3 separate regions of the Homo sapiens genome follow, and regions 1 and 3 are each linked to region 2. The links are contacts of gene promoters, found by promoter capture Hi-C in blood cells and fetal thymus (Javierre and others, 2016). All regions are on one chromosome and are shown on one strand. Each heading gives the region's core, a stretch centred on a gene start or on the middle of the fragment in contact. The rest is flanking DNA. Distances are from core to core; before and after follow the strand shown.

Region 1 (4,115 bases), core at 555-3,054, 520 kb before region 2:
AAGTCAGAAGATTTTGGGGTGAGGTCCCCTTGGGTGACTATTGGTCACTTTGGGGAAACGAGTGAACAGTTTTGAATCACAGCAACATGCGTTAGTAAGCTAGGAGTGGAATTATATGAAGGTAAGTGGCAGTAGGAGATGTTGATTGACTTGCTAAATATTTAAAAGTCCTGAAGAGAAGAGTCCACAGTTATTTACCTGAATGATAAATCCCACCATACAGAACCTTGTGCCTTCCTTTTCTCAGCTTTAGGTCACCAGGTATTCTTTGCAAAATAATGACAGCAAAGTCTTGATAATATTATCCTTTGAATGAAAATGTATTATCCTATAAAATCTTTTTTGGGGGGTGGGGATCTTTTTTCTAGTGAGCTCCAAAAGCTAATTAAAAGCAATTATCACAGAAAAGGGTGGCTTTTTGTTTTTTCACCACTGTCAATAGTTTCTTCGCCATATACTATATTTTAACAAATCTGATTTTTATTTCTCAGTCTAAAAAGCAACTGTGGTAAATGGACATCACGGATAATGATATTTTTAAAGGTGTGTAAAAGCCACAAGCTGGTTACTCCTGCTCTCTGGTGAGCAGGGATCAGAGAAGGAGGCAAAGCAATGGTGAGAGCTCAGTGCAGCTTGTAAGCCTCCACCACAAGCAGCACTTGGGTGGGATTGTTGAAACTTAGAACCAGGAGTGAATTTGGCATCTAGGCAAACCTCTTCACTTTCAGATGAGGAGGCTGAGGCTCAGTGAAGTCCAGCATCATGCTCTGCTAAGCCCCCGGCTACTGGCTTTCCTGACTGACCATTGTGAGAAGGAACACCGTCAAGTATTTCCTGACTTGTCAAAGGCTCATGATAATACAAGGATGATAGAAAATAAAAGCTGAGGCTTTAAGATGGGTGTGAAGGTTCAGCCTTGTGTTAACTGCCACACCTGCTTCAGGTGCTCAGGCCATCCTTCACAACCAGTCAGGTTAAAATCCCTGATTACTGAAATAGTCACTTTAACTTCTTCTTCTTCTTCTCCTCTTTTTGAATATATAGAAATCCTTCCCCCAAAACAAAGAGGTATAAAATGTCTGGTTTAAATAATACAGTATCATATGAAGTTTATGAATGTGTCAGTTTCTGAAGGAAAAAAAAAGTGGGTGCATATGTGTCTGTCATTGGGAATACAATTGTTTTTCAAGGATTAAATACGCAACATTTTTTTCCCACTAACAGAAATGAAAGCTGGAAAGAGCTGATATTTCTTATAGCAGCAGCAGCTACTTGCAATTAAATAGTAGAAAGTTTTGTTGTACCTCTTTCTTCTGTTCAGAAAACCAGCTTGTATCTTTGTTTGAACCTTGTGGCAAGATATGAAGATCCACGAGGACAGCAAAATTCCCACACTGAAAGACATTAATGGCAGAGTCAGTGTCTGTGCGGCTCATGCCCAGCAAACAATGAGAGAAAATCTCACAAATTCCTATGTGGTTGCTCATGATGAAATGGCAACAAAGTTCACTACTAGACAGAACTTTTAATAAAGAACATGGTTACAGGTCATAATCTACTACTTTCCCTAAGTTTAACATTTACAGTGGAAATGCTAAGGAGAGATGCAATGTTAATCAAGACAGGAAAGACAAAATATCTGTCTCTGGGCTGCACCTTGAAAGGGGATGTCCAAGCATCCCGGCAGCAGTTGGAAGACGTGAAGCATCGAGAGAAGTTAAATAGGTCAGTACTAGGTAGGCTCCACAAAAGAATGATTCCATGCACAGCCAGGGGAATTCTTTCTTCTAAGCAGCAAATAACAGATATAAGATACTGCATTTTTAGACGGACAAAAGGATTGGCTAGGACGGTACACTTTGGAATTGAAATAGGAACATGGAAGAATGAGAAATAAGCAAGAAGATAAAGATACATACTGAATGCTAGTTAACAAAACAAAACAAAATTCATTAAAGTATGCTACAAAACTGTACAAAGCCTGACTCTGTTCTTATTCTATAGGCTAGCGCTGTCCAGCACTTTAGAAAATAATGGAAATATTCTATATATATGCTGTTCAATAAGATAGCCATATGTGGCCGTATGTGGCCATATGTGGCTGCTGAGCACTTAAAATGTGGCTATTGTAACTGATAAGCTACATTTTTAATAAAATTTAAATTAAATTTAAGTAGCTACATGTAGCTAGTGGTTCCATACTGGATAGCACAGTTACAGACCCTGTGAAAAGTTGTTGCCTTATAAATCCTCACATATGAGTGAAGTAATTTCTGAGAATCACAAGATAACTGTGAACAAACTAATTTGGTAAGGAATGGGACACCAAGGTTGGGGATGGTCTGAGAGACCCAGAGATTCGGTTTATGAGACTCAGAGGTTCAGTTTTTTCACTTCCTTGGCTGGACAGTTTTGTTTTTTTTTTTTTAAATTCTGTCCTATATATCAACAGTGAAAGGAAAGTAGTTTCAACAAATGGTTAGACCATCAGATGTAAATATAAAGTGAAACTTGACACCTACCTCACGCTATATACAAAATTTAATTTGAGATGGATCACACACCTAGACAAAAAAGCCAAAACTATCTTCCTGATCTTTGGAATAGGAAAAGATTTCTTAGGATCCAGAAAGCACCAAATATTGAGAAAAATAGTTGTAAAATTGTTAAATTTTCAAAATTAAAAATTTCTGTTAACGAAAAAAGCACCACTAATAAAATAAATAGGTATGTTACAGACTGGGAGAAATGTATTTATGTATTCAAAAATACATGTATCTGGCAAAAAGGACTGGTACCCAAAATATGTAAAGAACTCCTACAAACTGATATTTTTAAAAAAAGCAAAACAAAAAACCTGAGTTTGAATAGACACTTCACAAATAGGATAAATGAATGGCTAATAAGAAAATGAAAAAAGTGTTCAATATCATTAGTCATCAGGCAAATTAAAATTAAAACCACCAAGAGATACAACTACAATACCCACCAGAATGACTACAGTTAAAAAGACTGACATAACATGAAATGTTGGTAAGGATATGGAACAACCCAGACTCTCATACTTTCCCAGTGGAAATGTAAGATGGTCTAACCACTCTGGCAAATGGGTTTGTCAGTTTCCTGTAGCTAAACGTACATTTACTTATCAACTGAGCCAATGATTCCTTCCCAGGTGTTTACTCAAGAGAGATGAAGTATATGTGCACACAAAGACTTGTATGCAAATATTCATGGAAGTTTTATTTATAATAACCCAACGTGAAGACAACCCAAAAGTCTACAACAAGAGAACAAATTGTGCCATATTCATGCAAGGGAACACTACTCACCACACTACCGATAGACTCAACATGTATTCATCTCAAAAACATTAGGTTGAGCAAAAGAAACCAGACCAAAATAACATATACTGTATGGTTCCATCTATATATAATTCTAAAACAGCAAAATCAACGTGTGATGAAAGGAATCAAAACAGTAATTTCCCAGGGGGGTAAAAAACTGGGTGAGAACTGTCACAAAGGAACTTTGTATGTGATAAGACTATTCTGTATCTTGATGGGGTATGTTATGTATACACTGCAATCAGTTCCTTTCACTATATTTAAATTATACATCAATAATAAACAATTTTTAAACACTGTGTAAAATGCACTCATACTTGTTGGCAGTTATTTAAAATGTAGGTATTACGTCCCTGAAAATGTGTGGGAGACCCAAATGAAGTTTACCAGGTAATAAACTGTGAAGCATGTTGAAAGATGGTTTCCTACGATGTAAAAGAGTGCACTTTAGTGTGTTACAGTTTAGTGTGTTGCAACCAGCATTTTATTTTAATGAAAGAGAACTGAAGATAATATTAGAATGCAATACAAAATATCAATGTGTCATATGGTTAGATCAAGAATTGTTTTGTGAAATGTAAGTAAGTGTGTACTCAGTTATGATGGAAAGCCTATTTCTTATTGTGGGTTGTAATAAAAAATGTTTGAAAACCACTCAAGTATACTGTTAAAGTCCTTCTCAACTGTTGGTTACAGAATTTAACCTTTAAGGAGTATGCTGCCACCAGGTGGAGGTCGCATGCCACAACTACAGGATCTTAGCCACGG
Region 2 (3,973 bases), core at 366-2,865:
CCAAAGTGTTGGGACTACAGGCGTGAGCCACCGGGCCAGGCCTCCTTTGCCTTTTAATCTGTTTATAACATGCGGTGGACTAGGGAACCAACTGAGGCTGCCTCAGAGTCATCCACTTGGACTTTGCTGCACGGCTTGGTGACACTCACCTTAGCTGCTATTTATGGCTTGTTTTATTATTATCGGCCATATTCCGATTAGGTGCGGTGTCATCATACTGCATATGTATATGTGTCATCTATGGAATAGGGCAAGATGCTCCTACATAGGTAATGATTAGACTGAATCAATGCCACTTGATTTGTGAAAATAAGGATTTCCCAATCAGGGACTTCAATGTTGCCTCTGTTAGCACCCATCTCTAACGGAGAATTAATTAGCAGCTACAGTGATGAATTCAGTAGGTCCATGGGTCGGTTTCCTGTGGACTGCCTCCCTCCCAGCTAAAGCCCTGAAGTGCTGGGGAGAGGGCAGCACCCTGTATAGTGTCCTTCACAATCAACTGCTAAGACTGACCAAGAGCTCACCCCACTGCAGGAAATCACACAAGTGTAGCCCTTGGGTCCTGGGTTCCTTGTAAATTGAGCAGCATATAGGATCCTCCACATACAAGCACACCTGTACTTTTCCCCAGCATGACCCTGGGCCACCTTAGTCACATCTAACCATCTACCAAGGTAGTGGAATAGAGCAGAATGTCTTGACTTGAGGTCCATGTTCGGGGTCTGAATACTCGGAAATTACATGAAAATCTGTGGGAATCTGTGTGTGTTCAGGTCATTTAACTCTCAAAGGGGGGCTGTGCGACAAGGAAGGATCATTAGAAAGAGGAATGGAGGAAGACAAGCTTGGTACAGTGGAATGTAGGGTTTGAGGTGGGGAAATCCGTTGTGATCCTCCCTTCCCTGTATCATTATTTACACAAACTAGTTGGATATAAATATGGATATGCTACCTACCTAGTTTTTACCTCAGTTTCTGCATCTGTGAACTGGCAATAGCAATGGTGCCCACTTCATGGGACTGTGTGAAAAGGAAATGAGATATGATCCTTGTAAAACATTTAGCAAAGTCCTTCAATATAGGCTCCTTATGAATACACCAAACTTTTGCGGGTTTCAGCTCACCCACAAGTGTAAGCGATAGTTTACATGTTGGGGGTTCTCTACTGTGCTTTCCACTTTTTAGTCTCCAGAAAAATCTGGAGAAGAGAGGAGTGGAGGGGGTAGAGATGTAACGTCAAAGGAAAAGCCATGTGTCATGCTCACCTCTTAGTCTTCCGGGCGATCAGAAGCCAGGGATCTCTGGGCACCTATGTGCCTGGGCCTGCTGGGGCGACCGGGGAGGCCCCTGCTCTCGTCCTCTGACGCTCAGCGCTGGCCCAGCCGCGACCTTGGGCTCCCGGAGCCCGGCGGAGGCGCCCAGGCGTGAATGATGTCCCTTGGGTAGGGCTGGTGAGCTGGCGCGCGGGACAGCAGGGCTGGGTGTATGTGTCCATGGGCCCCGGGTCCCCGGAAGGCGAGCGCGCGGGCAGGTGAGCGCAGGGGGCGGGGTGGAAGCCGGAGGGACCGGGCTGATTGTGAGCTTCCGCCACGCAGGGCGCGGCTGCCGGGGCAACCGCAGCGTGCGCGGTGGGGCGGTGCTCGCCTCCGCCTCCGCCTCCGCCTCCGCCTCCGCCTCCGCCTCCGCCTCCGCCTCCGCCCCCGCCCCCGCCTCCGCCTCCGCCCCTCGCGCCTGGCTTCGACGCCAGGTGGCCGGCCTGGGCGGGATGGGGTAGCTGCGCTGGGTGTTCCAGGGCGGAGCGCAGAATGCTGCTGTCTTGAGGATTCCGCCCTTCTCTCATTCTCTTCTCCCACCTCCTGCCCTGGGTCAGAACGTAATTTAGTTATAAAATTAAAGCTGCATATGGCAATTAAAAAATGAAGTAAAATATACAATAAATATTTAGTTTACAAAGTACAATTAAATGAAAAATACAATAAATTACACAATAAAGCGAAAGTGAACCTACTCTCAACTGCCACAGATTCTTGCAAATCTTCCCAGAAATTTTCTTTCCATACTCTAGGATGCATATATGCTTAAAAAATATTTATACACAAATGGAAGCAAATATGGAGATCACTTTATTTCAGGGCCTACAAATGCACCATAACACCCCTCTCTCTCCCTCCACACATGCTTTTTGGCGGAAAATTCTGAAAGCTTTGGTTTGATTATGTGAATGTAAAACATATATATGTGTGTCTATATATATATGCTTTTTAATGCAGTATGTAATTGCTTCCAATTAAAAACAGTAATTCCTTACACCAGCCTACCCTATTCTACTCAGAGACTGTTTAAAAATGTTAAGAGCGAAGACATGGAATCAACCTAAGTGCTCATCAATGATAGACTGGCTAAAGATAATGCGGTACATATACACCATGGAATACTATGCAACCATATAAAGGAACAAAATTATGTCTTTTGCAGGAATATGGAGCTGGAGGCAATTATCCTTGGCAAGCTAACGCAGAAACAGAAAACCCAATACTGCATGTTCTCACTTATGAGTGAGAGCTAAGTGATGAGAACACATGGACACATAGAGGGGAACAGCACACACTGGGGCCTATTGGAGGGTAGAAGGTGGAGAGTGGGAGGAGGGAGAGGATCAAGAGAAATAACTAATGGGTACTAATCTTAATACCTGGGTGAGAAAATAATTTGTGCAACAAAACCACATGACACAAGTTTACCTATATAACAAATCTGCACATGTACCCCTGAACTTAAACGTCAAATAAAAAATAATAAAAATGTTATTAAGGACTATTTCATGCACACCAAAATATACTGTATGATATATGGAAAGTACATACCATACCATACCATAGCTAAAGAAATACCATAGCTAAAGAAAAAGAAAGCTAGGAAAAATAAAGGAAAAAGGAAAAGGAAAAAAAAGTCTGCCTCTACTGCTGTACTTATATGTATTTCTTCCCAACACTGCATCCTCCTCTTCCTGTTCCCAGAGATAATACCTGTTCTGAATTTTACATTTATCATCCCAGCCTCTTAAAAATGCATTGCTACATTGAATGCCTCCCTAAATAATGCATGTTTAATATTGCATATTTTGAGAATTTATAAAAATGTGGTAGAATGTTGTGTATTGTTTTGATGACTTTTTTCCTTTCAACGTCTTGTTTTTGAAATGTATCTTTGTTGGTATGTTTAATTGGAGTTCCTTTATCTAAACAGCTGTAGGCTATTCCATTATATTACCATTCCACACCCCTTTCAAATCAATTCCACTATTGATAGACATTTGGGATGTTTCCAGAATTTGCTACTAAAAGCAATACTACTAAGATCATGTTTATAAATGTCTTTGGACGCACACGTTCAAGAGTTTCACTAGAGTATATGTCTAGGAGTTAAATTTCTGGGTCATAGGTTATTTATAACATCAAGATAAAGACAACTTGTTTTCCCGACATATACAGCAATTTAGACTCCCATCAGCAGTGTGTATCTTAGCCAAAACTTGGTTTTGTCACACAAAAAACTTTCTGCCAATCTTGGTATCAATGCTCTTTTATAATTTACTTTACGTGACCTGATTACTAATTATTAATCTGTAAGTTTGATTCCTTAGAGATATTTGAGTGTAAATTTATTGTCAAACTGTGTCCAAAATTGGTGGGTTCTTGGTCTCACTGACTTCAAGAATGAAGCCAGGGACCCTCGCGGTGAGTGTTACAGCTCTTAATGTGGCGCATCTGGAGTTTGTTCCTTCTGATGTTCGGATGTGTTCGGAGTTTCTTCCTTCTGGTGGGTTCGTGGTCTCGCTGGCTCAGGAGTGAAGCTGCAGACCTTCACGGTGAGTGTTACAGCTCTTAAGGCGGCGCTTCTGGAGTTGTTGGTTCCTCCTGGTGGGCTCGTGGTCTCGCTGGCTTCAGGAGTGAAGCTGCAGACCTTCGCA
Region 3 (4,388 bases), core at 1,345-3,844, 540 kb before region 2:
AATTTAATCTAAATCTCTGGAGAAGACCACTGGCAAAATCAATGGTACTTTATTAATTCATTAAAATTCAGATATTTATAACAATTTAAAATCATGTTTGCACTGGCTAGGTTAAAAAAGATTCTTGATCCTAACTAGTAAATGCCAGCTTTGACCCTGCTGGGAAGAAAAAAAAAATAGTTCCATTAAAAGAATGAGAAGACAATTTCAAATTTACTATAAAGCTACAGTAATCAAGACAGTGCAGTATTGGCATATGGAAACACATGTAGAAACAGAATTGAGGCCAGGCACGGTGGCTCACGCCTGTAATCCCAACACTTTGGGAGGTCAAGGCGGGTGGATCACATGAGGTCAGGAGTTCGAGACCAGCTTGGCCAACATGGTGAAACCCCATCTCCACTAAAAATACAAAAATTAGCTGGGCATGGTGGCGGATGCCTTAATCCCAGCTACTCAGGAGGCTGAGGTGGAGAATCGGTTGAACCTGGGAGGCGGAGGTTGCAGCGAGCCGAGATCACACCACTGCACTCCAGCCTGGGCGACAGAGAGAGACTCTGTCTGAAAAAAGAAAAAAAAGAAAAAAGAAAAGAAAAAAAAGAAACAGAATTGAGAGTCCAGAAATAAACACTCACATTTATTGTCAACTGATTTTCAACAAAGGTGCCAAGAAAATTAAATGAGGATAGAATAGTCTTTTCAACAAAAGGTACTTGGACAACTGGATATCCACATGCAAAAGAATAAAGTTGGACCCCTAACTCATGTCATATATGAAATTAACTCAAAATGCATCAAAGACCTGAATGTAAGAGCTAAAACTATAAAACTCCTTAAAAAATAGATGTACATTTTTATTACCTTGGATAGGGCAATGGTTTCTTAGATATGATATCAAAAGCACAACAACAACAACATAGATGAATTGGACATCATTAAAATTAAAAACTTTTGGGTATCAAAGGCCACCATCAAGAAAATGAAAAGAAAATCCACAGAAGAGAAGAAAAATGTTATAAATCATATAGCTGATAAGGGACTTATATCTAGAATGTTTAAAAGAATTCCCATAACTCAATAAAAAGACTAATAACCCAATTAAAAATGGGTTCAAATCCTGAACAAACATTTATCCACAGAAGATATACAAACGGCCAGTAAGTACTTGAATAGATGGTAACATTATTAGTCATCAGGGAAATGGAATCAAAACCACAATGAGATAACACTTCATACACACAGGACAGCTATAGTCAAAAAGACAAACAGGTGTGGCTAAGGATGTGGAGAAAATAGAAGCCTCATACACTGCTGGCAGGAACAGAAAATGCTGCAGCTACTTGGAAAACAGTCTGGAAGTTCGTCAATATGTTAAACATACAGGTACAGAATGACCCAGAAATTCCATTCGTAGGTATATAGCCATGAGAAATGAAAACATATGTCCACTCAAAAACTTGTACACGAATACCCATAGTAGCATTATTCATCATAGCCAAATGTGGTTAACAACCCAAATGTCCATCAATTGATGAATGGACAAAATATGATAGATCCATACCATGGAACATTATTTGTAATAAAATGAAATAAAGTACTACTGATATGTGTTATAAAATGAACGAATCTTGAAAACATTATGCTGAGTGAAAGAAGCCAGTTACAGAGAACCACATGGTGTATGACTCTATTTGTATGAAATGTCCAGAACAGGCAAATCCATAGAGACAGAAAGTAAGCTGGTGGTTGGTTGTCTGTGGCTGGGGTATTGGGGAAAATGAAGAGTAACTGCTAATGGGTAAAGGGTTTCTTTTGGAGTGATGAAAATGTTCTCAAATTGATTCTGGTGATGGTTACACAACTCTGAATACATAAAAACCATTGAACAGTATACTTTAAACAGGTGAATTGTATATGAATTATATCTCAATAAAGCTGTTATTAAAAAAATGAGAAGTATTCTTCAGCTAAATGGATTGTTGACAACTGTGTTCCTCATTTTTAAATCTCTCAACTAAATAGTTAGGAAGAATGAGGCTTTCCTGTAAGTGAAAATGTCTGAGATTTAAAAAACGAGATATATAATTATTCCACCACACTGGTAAACAACAAGAGGCTACAATGGAAATATGGAAACAATGTTTCTCATCATTTTGACTGATTCAGCAAATCAATCTATGAGTATTTGATGGTGAATTCTATAATTTTCCAACAGTAGGCTTCCTGGCCCTACAGTCATCCTAATTAAGCTTCATTGTTGTCATTCATTCATTTCTTATTATCATTAAAGAGACAGGGTCTTTCTCTGTTGCCTCAGCTGGAGTACAGTGGTATGATCATAGATCACGGCAGCCTCGAATTCCTGGGCTCAAGCCATTCTCCTGCCTCAGCCTCCTGAGCAGCTAGGACTAGAGGTACGTGCTGTCACACCCAACTAATTTATTTTTATGTTTTTTTGTAGAGACAGAACCTTGTTATGTTGCCCAGGTAGATCTTGAACTTCTGGTCTCAAGCAATCCTTCTGCCTTGGTCTCCAAAGTGTTGGGATTAAAAGAGTGAGCCATCATGCCAGGCCTTATTGTTATCTTTCAGTTCATTAGAATACTATATAGTACTACAGCCTTCCTAAGTTTACTCAGCCTAATTTTCACTTTTATAAAAAGCTAGAGGAAAAAAAGATTGAATAAGCTAAAAATGAAGGGGGGAAAGCATGAAAAACCCTCATCATAAGGGCATTATTTATAAATTCTGTACACTTTTGTTATGAAAACACTAGTATTTTACTAAAATAAGGGTAAACTTAAACAATACAAAAATCTCAGTCTTCTAGAAGTTCACACTACCTTGAAGGGCAACCAAGAAGCTGTTTTATTTTCAAATATATCTAATAAGGATTTGTTAAGTTTTTAAAAAATATTTTCTATTTAAGTGAAGCTTTTGCAAATCATTCTTGTAAATAATGAGAATTTCTTCCCCGCAGAGGAATACTTTCTATTTCAGTGTTTCTAAGAATACACAGGGTTAAAACTGTGTAAAATATATTTTCTCACAGTTGGGGGAGAAAAAAAACACCGCAAATAGGAAACCAGACAGCTAGGGGGGTCAAAACACTACACTTCCAGGTCAGACTTCTGGTTGCAATTAAGTAAAATTCCTGAAAATATTTGTAAGGAAATCATATTTTTGGTGTCCCCTTTCAGGTCTTATAACTTTTATTTTCTTTAGCAGCAACTTATATTGTGGGTATATACTTATCTATTCATTCATTACATACACACACACAAACACACAAATATACACATTTACTTGGACACATACATTAATCTATGACCCAGAATTGAAATTCAATCTTGGCCTAAAACTTAAAACTAGCATCTTTTCCAGGCATTCATTTTTTATGCGTGAGATCATGTGGAGTTAGTTTTGTTTTTGCTTAATGTAGGCATGGATAATTTTCTCAAGACATTTCACAAAACAGATCAGGCCAAGTTTCCCATTAGGTTATGTGGTTCATGATCAAATAATTAAAATAAATGTGAATCTGATTGGAGTTTATGCTCTAAGTAATAAGGGCATTGTGGTACAACAACAAATATAAACAAGCTATACAATTAGGTGTACCTGAACAGTTATTCACCATGCCTCTACTCAACTCCCTGGGAACAGCCCAGGGATTCTTAATGCTTCACAAATAAGCACCTCACTCTGAATCTGTGGCAAATTCACTTAGAGACAGTATAAATGTCTATCGTACCAAAGGGAGTCAATTCCCCTGCCCAGTTTATAGAAGGTATTATAATGAATATAAAATTATTTTGATCATGAACAACTGAAGTGGTTAACTAAAATATTTAGTAACCATAAAACTTCACAATTGTAGGTTATCCACTTTTATTCCAAATAATTAGAATAATTAGGGTGTCATGTTAGGGAATTTGAAAATGAAAGCTCTCTTGTTTTTAATCAACACTTGGGTTAGAATCCCCCAAATTCCCAAGATATTCAGGTAGCAAATCACGGTCCCAATGTGTTAGACCACAGTGTACTATCCTAAACAAGGCCTCTTCACTCATCCTTCAAACACTTCAAAATCAAAGGGCTCTTACTGATATTTAGTCGGTAAGATAACTAGTATCCATTTTCTCCTTCCAGCTTCCTTATGGGTGTTAATATTAGGAATGTGAAACTCAATTACTAGAAATTTGAAAATCCGGGCATTATGATGGGAGGTCCTGGCCAAAGGAAAAAAAAAAAATTAAAAGGAACAGACAAGCTGGTGAATGCTACAAGTACTTCCTAGATAAGAGAAGGCTTTTCATTGCTAAGGTGTAATGGACCTGAAATTCTTGAGAAACAAACAGTACATGCTAAGGTAAACAGTTCCCACT

What was found. Contacts are between HindIII fragments. The CHiCAGO score rates a contact against its expected background, and 5 or more counts as called.
Region 1: a fragment that was not itself captured here is called in contact with the fragment with the promoter of ANKEF1 in region 2 in 3 of 17 cell types (naive CD8 T cells, total CD8 T cells and total CD4 T cells); the score reaches 7.7 in naive CD8 T cells.
Region 3: a contact is called between a fragment that was not itself captured here and the fragment with the promoter of ANKEF1 in region 2, in 2 of 17 cell types (non-activated CD4 T cells and naive CD8 T cells). The highest score is 5.4, in non-activated CD4 T cells.

The regions. Positions count from the first base shown.
Region 1 is chr20:10,553,510-10,557,624 of GRCh38, reverse strand. It overlaps SLX4IP (SLX4 interacting protein), which reads right to left. Exons shown (of 8, transcript NM_001009608.3): 3 at 1,305-1,394. Among named protein-coding and RNA genes, the nearest start is that of MIR6870, 94 kb to the left of the region's middle. The HindIII fragment of the contact is 6,035 bases long and covers 1-4,115 here.
Region 2 is chr20:10,032,629-10,036,601 of GRCh38, reverse strand. ANKEF1 (ankyrin repeat and EF-hand domain containing 1) reads right to left here and starts at 1,615. Exons shown (of 11, transcript NM_022096.6): 1 at 1,269-1,615; 2 at 960-1,023. All of the region lies in intron 3 of SNAP25-AS1 (SNAP25 antisense RNA 1), which reads left to right. RefSeq lists a silencer at 1,275-1,824. The HindIII fragment of the contact is 1,358 bases long and covers 850-2,207 here.
Region 3 is chr20:10,575,622-10,580,009 of GRCh38, reverse strand. All of the region lies in intron 4 of SLX4IP (SLX4 interacting protein), which reads right to left. Among named protein-coding and RNA genes, the nearest start is that of MIR6870, 72 kb to the left of the region's middle. RefSeq lists silencers at 1,182-1,382, 1,115-1,409. The HindIII fragment of the contact is 685 bases long and covers 2,252-2,936 here.